3 separate regions of the Homo sapiens genome follow, and regions 1 and 3 are each linked to region 2. The links are contacts of gene promoters, found by promoter capture Hi-C in human tissues and cell types (Jung and others, 2019). All regions are on one chromosome and are shown on one strand. Each heading gives the region's core, a stretch centred on a gene start or on the middle of the fragment in contact. The rest is flanking DNA. Distances are from core to core; before and after follow the strand shown. Region 1 has its middle 59 kb from the start of PLEKHG3. Region 2 holds the start of AKAP5 (A-kinase anchoring protein 5). Region 3 has its middle 76 kb from the start of PPP1R36.

Region 1 (2,751 bases), core at 174-2,673, 180 kb before region 2:
ACACTCCAGCCTGGGCGACAGAGCAAGACTCCATCCCAAAAAAAAAAAAAAAAAAAGCACTGCGGTCGAGATAAATGATGCAGTGAGGATTCAACCAGCCATATCCAGCATGTGGGGATTGCAGAGGACAAACGACCTGGTTTCTTTAACACATAAATGTAATTGAAAGAAGGCAAGGGGGTAAGGGAGAAATGACAACGGATTAAGAAATACTTAAGAGATATATCAACCAAATGCAATGTGAGAACTTTATTTAGATCAGGATGTAAAAAAAATAACTGTAAAAAGATATTTTTAAAGATATTGGGGGGCGCTGGGCGTGGTGGCTCACGCCTGTAATCCCAGCACTTTGGGAGACCGAGACGAGAGGACCACTTCAGCCCAGGAGTTCAAGACTAACCTGGGCAACATAGCGAGACCCTGTTTCTATTTAAAAAAAAAAAAAACACAAGATATTAGGGTAATTTGCAACACAGATTATAAATGAGATGAGGTGATGGAATTACTAATTTTGTTAGGCATGGTCATTTCATTATTGGTATGGTAGTTATAAAGTTCTTACCTGCTAGAGATGGAAACTTGAAGCCAGATGAAATAATATGATGTCTAGTATTTGCTTTAGGACTCTAAGCCTAGTGCAGTGGCTCACACCTGTAATCATGGCACTTTGGGAGGCTGAGGTGGGAGGATCGCTTGAGCCCAGGAATTGAAGACCAGCCTCAGCAATATAGCAAGACTCTGACTCTACTACTACTACTACTACTAATAATAATAATAAAAATTAGCCAGGTGTGGTGGTGCACACCTATGGTCCCAGCAATGACTCTAGTGTAGGGGCCAGCAAATTTTTTCTGTAAAGGACCGGATAGCAAATATTTTAGCTTTTGAGGGCCATATGGTCTCTATCATGACTGCTCAGCCTTGCTGTTGTGTTGCAAAAGCAGCTATGGAAAATACATAAGTGAATGGCATGGCCGTGTTGCAATAAAACTTTGTTTACAAGAACAGGAGGCAGGCTGGATTTGGCCCATGGGATTGTCATTTACCAATCCCAGCTCTACCGCAAAAAAAAAGGAGGGGGCAGATAGGTGAAAAAGATGTACAAAATGTCGATATTTGTTGAAGCCGGATGACTTAATACATGGTAGTTCATTTCACTATCTTCTCTATTTTTGTATGTTTGAATATTTCCGTACCTAAAAAATATTCAAATGCATGGAAGAGATCTTTTTGCAGAAAAAGGCCTTTCACCTCCCTCCTTCTCTCTTTATCTCCCCCACTTCTTTTACCTTTGCCTGTCATTTTCTCAGGGCTGTTTCAGATGCCCACTGGCACACACACTTGCACTTCAATGTATTTTCAAAATCAGAGTGAATGTCCTAGGCAGCCCCACTGCTGAGGAATGCCACAGAATTCTGCAGCAAACCCTTAGGATGGGGTCGCAGATGGTTTCCCAAGAGACTCCCAGGCCATTTCCTCTCCGAGTTTTATACCCTTGTAAACACTTTTCCTAAAATGGAGTTTCCAGTCCTGGGGGCTGAAGCAAACCGCCCTCAGGGAAGCACTGTTGTTTTCTTCTTTCTCAGCAGGAAACAGGAATGTCCTGGGGAGTGTTAGAAATTTACCAGACGGCTCTGGTGAAGGGCTGGGAACTTCAGCTGGAATTTGGAATATGGTCAGCATCTGGGAGTTCAAAGGAAAAAATGTGAAGCTATTCATCAGACTCCATAAATTCTCTTAAAAGTAGATCATTATAAAATAAAGAGGAGACACTAGGTCATGTTGTCAGGTTAAAGGAATTACGCACATCTCCCATGAAACTGCCCTGAATGCGTAGGCGGAGCACATATGTCATTTCAAATTGTGGGTGGCAGCTCTACTAAGGAAAGAACAGCCTTTAACCCTTCTTTTCCAAGATCCTTCAGGGCATGACGGGGCCTCTGCAAAAGCTGGCCCTACCCTGTCTTCCCCGTGCAGGAACTGGGTGCTCTCTACCTGTCCTTAGCATGTGCCTCTGCCCCCGCCTGGCAGTGGTACAGGAAAGGGGACCCAATCCAGACCCCAAGAGAGGGTTCTTGGATCTCACACAAGAAAGAATTCAGGGCAAGTCCATAGAGTAAAGTGAAGCAAGTTTATTAGGAAAGTAAAGGAACAAAAGAATGGCTACTTCATGGACAGAGCAGCCCCGAGGGCTGCTGGTTGCCCATTTTTTGTGTTTATTTCTTGATTACATGCTAAACAAGGGGTGGATTATTCACGCCTCCCTTTTTAGACCATATAGGATAACTTCCTGTCATTGCCATGGCATTTGTAAACCATCATGGCGCTGGTGGGAGTGTAGCAGTGAGGATGACCAGAGGCCAGTCTCGTGGCCATCTTGGTTCTGGTGAGATTTAGCCGGCTTCTTTACTGCAACCTGTTTTATCAGCAAGGTCTTCATGACCTGTGTCTTGTGCCGACCTCCTATCTCATCCTGTGACTAGAATGCCTAACCTTCTGGGAATGCAGCCTAGTAGGTTTCAGCCTTATTTTACCCAGCCCCTATTCAAGATGGAGTTGTTCTCGTTCGCATGCCTCTGACAGTAGGATCTTGCTCTCTCTAGTCACTTATCTAAGCTCAGCGTTCCATCTGAGTTCTAGCTCTTGTTGAAGGTAAGAGACCTTTCCTGTCCATGCCAGCTCCTGGTAGGCTCTCTTCTCATGAGCTTCTCCAGCACATTCTGATGGTACCATCTGTTATCACATAATGTG
Region 2 (2,700 bases), core at 112-2,611:
GAAATGGGAGGTGATTATCCAACAAAGATCCTATGAATTTTAGTGGGTGGATGCCCTAAAATAAGCAAAGGGACTCATTCTTTATATTGTTTTTATGTAAATCCTTCACTGAAGTTTCATTTGGGTAACCCATAATTTTATGAACTGTAGAAGGAACTGGAACCCTGAAAATCAGTTTATGATCTAAGTAAATATTATCTTAGGTTGGGTGTTTCATACTGTGTGCCTCTAACAGAAAGATAAAGTCATTCTAGAACAATGACGGAACTAAAATATGAACATTTGACAGTGTTTCTCCTCACAATGTTTCAGTGAGCACTAGAACCTAAGCTGATAACTGTTTAAATCTTCTCACCTCTTGTGAGTTTTCAGCACCTGAGCATTTTTGTTAAGCAGAGGCTGTATTACCACATAATAGAAATATTGAAATGAGATGTTTAGGAGTCTGTCATTGGAAACTAACCTGGATTGCGCAAAGACAATCGTTTGAGAAGCTCACTTGAATGTATCTCACATACTAGAAATAAAACGAATACCCAAACAGAAACTTAACTAACGAGGGAAAATAATGCAGTCTGTAGACAATAAAACTTTGCAGAATGTCAGACTGCAAATGATTCGCTCTTAACCAGCAAGGGTAGCTTTATCGCCTCAGGAAATCTTAAAGTCCCTGTGCTCATTTCCTGATGGAATTGCAAGTCTCATGTCACAGAAAACACCCCCTTTCCTTTTTCCCTTGAGCAGCCAGTACCCGAGGAAAGCAATGCATCTTTCCCAGCACCAGATACGGACCACGAAGCTTCCTCCTGGAGGAAGGAATCTCGAATTCTGGCTTGACGCCCCTTATGGCAGGAGACAGAGCGCAGGATAAAGTACTCAAAAAGGAAAATGCCGGGGGCGTGGAACAGATAACCCAGCTTCAGGCTGTCTGCAGAATTATAATGTAATGGCCAGAAACCCAAAATCACATTTCTCAAAGAGGGATAAAGAAGGAAAAAAGCCACCGGCAACCCATGCTTCTAAGACAAGCTGTAACGCGAAGGGGATAGGTGGGCAGACCTGATGAGGGTCGCCCTGGCCGCGGATTCCAGCGGACAAGCGACCTCCCGCGTTCTTACTCCCAGCACCTCAGAGGGCTCGGATACCCCGTATCCAGTGGGCACCTCTTGCCCACTCCGCGGTCCGCGGACCGGACATTGCCCCCGACCCTCCTCCCCCGCAGGCTCCCCGCCCTGCCTTTACTTACGTAGGGCGTCGGGGTCCTTGGCCAACACTGCTCCCGAGGTGGCGGCGCGCTCGCGGGGCCCGCCGCCCAGGCCTCCAGGGAGCCGCGGTCGCACCCGGAGCAAGGCGCCCTCTGCAGAGCCCGCCGCCGGGTGCGCCCCCTCCCCACCGCGCGGGGACAGACAGCAGGCAGCGCCAATGCGAGCGGAGCGGAGCGGGCGGGCAGGGGCGGGGCGACCGCCGGAGGCGCGGGGCGGCGCGGGCGCCGGGACCCACCTGCAGCAGCAGCCTGCCTGCCTGCCGCGGGGAAGCCCATCGTGCTCCGCCCGGGCGCCAATCTCCACTGCCAGACCACATCAGCGCCGAGGCGGGGACCGCAAGAGAGCCAGCCGGAAGGTTCGGGGGGCGGGGGAAGGCGGGGGGGACCAGGGCAATGAACCCCGCGTTTTCTGAGACGCTAAATAGTGAGGTCCGGTTTCAAATTATAGACAGTCGCATTACACATCTCCTCTCCTCCCCCTCAGAATATTTAAAGACAAGGCAGACATCGCATTTTAAAAGCAGGATTCAAAACTGTGCATAGAATAGCGAGGTCATGTTTGTTTGAAGCGAAAATTACATATATAAATGGAAACAGAAAGAAACCCGACTTTCTCAGGAGTGGCTTGAGTGTCAGATCATCGTGGTTCATCGCCAAACAGGCTTTCAAACCTTTGTCTCCCAGTGGGAAGCAGGTGGAGGTGATTGGTGCAGAACTTTGGCCTGCAGGAGCAGCTGCATCTCTATGCGGACAAGGTGAGAAAGGCACAGGAACCCAGCTCCATCCATCTTATACCTTACATAGTTCCAAAAATAAGTTGAGGTAGCTTACAAGTTACCCATGATTCCCTTCAGGACATTCCCTATGAGGGCATTCCTGGGAGCTCCAGCTGTAAAATCTAGTAGGATCCATCACAATCCCAGCCTCCTCCTCTGGCCCCCATAGCATAGCATCCAGATGAAGAACCTGGTAAGGTGAAGTGAAGAACTACTGAAAAGCAGCCGCGTTCATCTCCTTTCTTCAACAGGATCACGACCTTAGGGAGTGTAAATGTCAGGTGTCCATTTTTGTATTTTTTCCGGAAATGTTTTATATTTGTAAGATTCTGTAGTTTCCACAGAGGCTTATCAAGGAAAGAACTCTTGAGACACAAAAGCAAAGCCAAATATAAGCTGTCAAGATCTTAAAATTACAGATAAAAGAGGCAAGAGTTGTAAAACAGGAAAATCCATAAGCATCTAGTTTAGTTGTAATTAAGAATTCAGGGATGGGCGCAGTAGCTCACACCTGTAATCCCAGCACTTTGGGAGGCCAAGGCAGGAGGATGGCTTGAGTCCAAGAGTTTGAGACCAGCCTGGGCAACATAGGGAGACAAAAAAATCTAAAAAATTAGCTGGGCATGGTGGTGCACGTATGGTCCCAGTTACTCAGGAGCT
Region 3 (2,769 bases), core at 147-2,646, 160 kb before region 2:
GTATCCCAAACATCTATTATTGTGCCCAGCATATAGTAGGCACTCAGTAAATGTTAAATGGATGGAGTGATCTGGAATTTGGGCTCTGCAAAAATTTTGCCATGACTTTCTCCAGGTCATAACCTTTTAAAAAGGCTTCTAGCCTATATCAGGGTAAATGCTTACTTAATTCAATAAAAAGTATATATTTACTTAGTACCTACTATGTGACAAGCACATAGGTCTCCAATACTCCTGACAAAGGAACTGTAAGTGGTTTTTACACCTATGGGAACAGTAAAGATGGTGATTCTCTTTCCCTTATCATGCTTCTAACATAGCACAGTGGATCCCCACCCCCAGACTAGAGGTTACAGCAATAAATAAAACAGCAAACCCCTCCACCTCACCCTCTTGAAGCTTATATTGTCTTTTCATTTGAAGAAAGCCTCACTGGGCACCTCCCCTTGGCAGTGCCATTATGACACTTCTTGCTGATAGTGTTTGTATTAGTCCATTCTCATGCTGCTAATAAAGACATACCCAAGACTGGGTAATTTATAAAGAAAAGAGGTTTAATTGACTCGTAGTTCAGCAGGGCTCGGGAGGCCTCCAGAAACTTAACAGTCATGGCAGAAAGGGAAGCAAACATGTCCTTCTTCACATGGTGGTAGCAAGAAGTGCCAAGCAAAAGGGGGGAAAAAAGCCCTTAAAAACCATCAGATCTCATGAGAACTCACTCACTATCACAGGAACAGCAGCATGGGGGTAACCGTCCCCATGATTCAATTACCTCCCACCAGGTCCCTCTCACAACATGTGGGGATTATGGGAGCTACAATTCAAGATGAGATTTGGGTAGGGACACAGCCAAACTGTATCAGTGGTGAAGACTAGACCTGTCCTCTTAGAGTTATCATACAATCCAGATGAATAAATACACAGGTAAAAATAAAAGGCAACTCCCACACAAAAACCAAACTACAGTGGCTCCCGGCTCCCAGCTCCCAGGCAGGCTGAGAGCCCCAGGGCCACTGGCTCAGGTGCATGTTTTCCTGAGCAGCCCTTCAGACCCGGCAGAGGCCCTCACGGAGCAAGTCGGGGGGCACTCCCAGTGTTCTCCTCTGGCTTCACCCCTCACACATGCTGGGCTCCTGCCTCTTCCTCCCTCCTGCTCCAGATCCAGAAGAAGGGCCTGGGCAGGCCCCGTGGTACTCCTGACTTGCCTGGGCTGTTGTTAGCATAGAGATCAAAAAGAGAAAGTGCAGCCAGGGGGTGCGGGGAGAAGCTGGTGAGCCGAGGCAAGAGCTGGCTCCGGAGTTGGCAGCAGCCAGGACACCCAGGTCAAGTGCAAGGAAACAGCGCAGAGGCACTGAGACCGACAAGAGACCCAAGGTCACAGAGCTCACCGCGCATGTCCTTCCTGTTATTTTCCCTCCATGTGCAGAGTTTAAAGTATGAAATCCCTGTAGCTGTGAAAGCGGGGAGACATAAGAGTCTGTTGCCTCAGGGAGAATCTTACTATTGGATTACAAAGGCTCAATATGGAACTCAGAGGGTGGGGCAGATCAGCTCTGGATTCTTTCCTTCTATTTGCCTTTCTGCCCCTACCTACAAGACAAACAGAGCAGCCTGTTGTCTGACCTCCTCAAGCCTATAAGAGTCTCTGCACAAATCTTCACCATTCTTCGGCAGCTCTTTCTGGGGTATCTTCCTGCCCCTCACCTTCCACCCCGGCTAGCCTTTGGCTCACCCTCTGTCCAACCCCACACCTGACCCCAGCTTCTGAAATGAGCTATTCTTATTTCTGAGACTATATATGCATGTATTGGGTCACTTGGGGCCAGCGTGGGGGAGCTGGGATTTAGGGGCTCCTTCACCTTCAGGAGTTCAAATCGTCATTTGATTTAGGGGTAGGCCTGCAGCCTAACAGGGTTCTGTTATTTGGTTAAACCAGTTGAAGCAGAAAGGAAGCATTTCAAAGTAAAGGAAGGGGCCACAGCGTCAGCCCCTGGAAGGGCTCAGCTCACCCTCACTTTCACACAGTGTAGAATAGCTTGATTGTTTTCCTTCCTTTCTTGAATAACTCTTCCTTAATTTTTTTTCCCAGAGATAAGTTCTGTCCCCCAGGCTGGAGTGCAGTGGCGTGATCATAGCTCACTGCAACCTTGAACTCCTGGGCTCAAGTGATCCTCCCACCTCAGCCTCCCAAGTAGCCAGGACGACAGGTGCATGCCACCATGCCTGGCTCATTTTTTAAAAATTTTTTGTAGAGACAAGGTCTCACTATGTTGCCCAGGCTGGTCTCAAACTCCTCATTACAAGTTATCCTCCTGCCTTGGCCTCCCAAAGTGCTGGGATTCCAGGCGTGAACCACCACGCTCAGCCTCTTGCTTGATTTTTTTCTTTCTTTTTTTTTGAGATGGAGTCTCACTCTGTTGCCCAGGCTGGAGTGCAGTGGCACAATCTGGGCTCACTGCAAGCTCCGCCTCCCGAGTTCATGCCATTCTCCTGCCTCAGCCTCCTGAGTAGCTGGGACTACAGGCACCCACCACCACACCCGGCTAATTTTTTTTGTATTTTTAGTAGAGACGGGGTTTCACCATGTTAGCCAGCATGGTCTCAATCTCCTGACCTCATGATCCTCCCTCCTCAGCCTCCCAAAGTGCTGGGATTACAGGCGTGAGCCACTGCGACCGGCCTCTCTTCCTTGATTTTTAAGACTCAGTTCAAAGAGCTCTTCTGATTCTCCTTCCATGAGCCCTCCAGGCCACAGTGACCTCAAACTGC

The links. The method cuts DNA at HindIII sites, captures the fragments that hold promoters and counts their contacts. A contact is called where the count stands out against the background at its distance.
Region 1: a contact is called between a fragment that was not itself captured here and the fragment with the promoter of AKAP5 in region 2, in 1 of the 25 tissues and cell types used here (hippocampus).
Region 3: a contact is called between a fragment that was not itself captured here and the fragment with the promoter of AKAP5 in region 2, in 1 of the 25 tissues and cell types used here (liver).

What each region holds. Positions count from the first base shown.
Region 1 is chr14:64,644,534-64,647,284 of GRCh38, reverse strand. No RefSeq gene overlaps it. Among named protein-coding and RNA genes, the nearest start is that of PLEKHG3, 59 kb to the left of the region's middle. The HindIII fragment of the contact is 5,708 bases long and covers 1-2,751 here.
Region 2 is chr14:64,464,160-64,466,859 of GRCh38, reverse strand. AKAP5 (A-kinase anchoring protein 5) reads right to left here and starts at 1,361. Exons shown (of 2, transcript NM_004857.3): 1 at 1,247-1,361. It also overlaps a transcript of ZBTB25 not described here. RefSeq lists silencers at 1,087-1,156, 1,167-1,566. The HindIII fragment of the contact is 11,787 bases long and covers 325-2,700 here.
Region 3 is chr14:64,624,339-64,627,107 of GRCh38, reverse strand. No RefSeq gene overlaps it. Among named protein-coding and RNA genes, the nearest start is that of PPP1R36, 76 kb to the right of the region's middle. The HindIII fragment of the contact is 6,462 bases long and covers 1-2,769 here.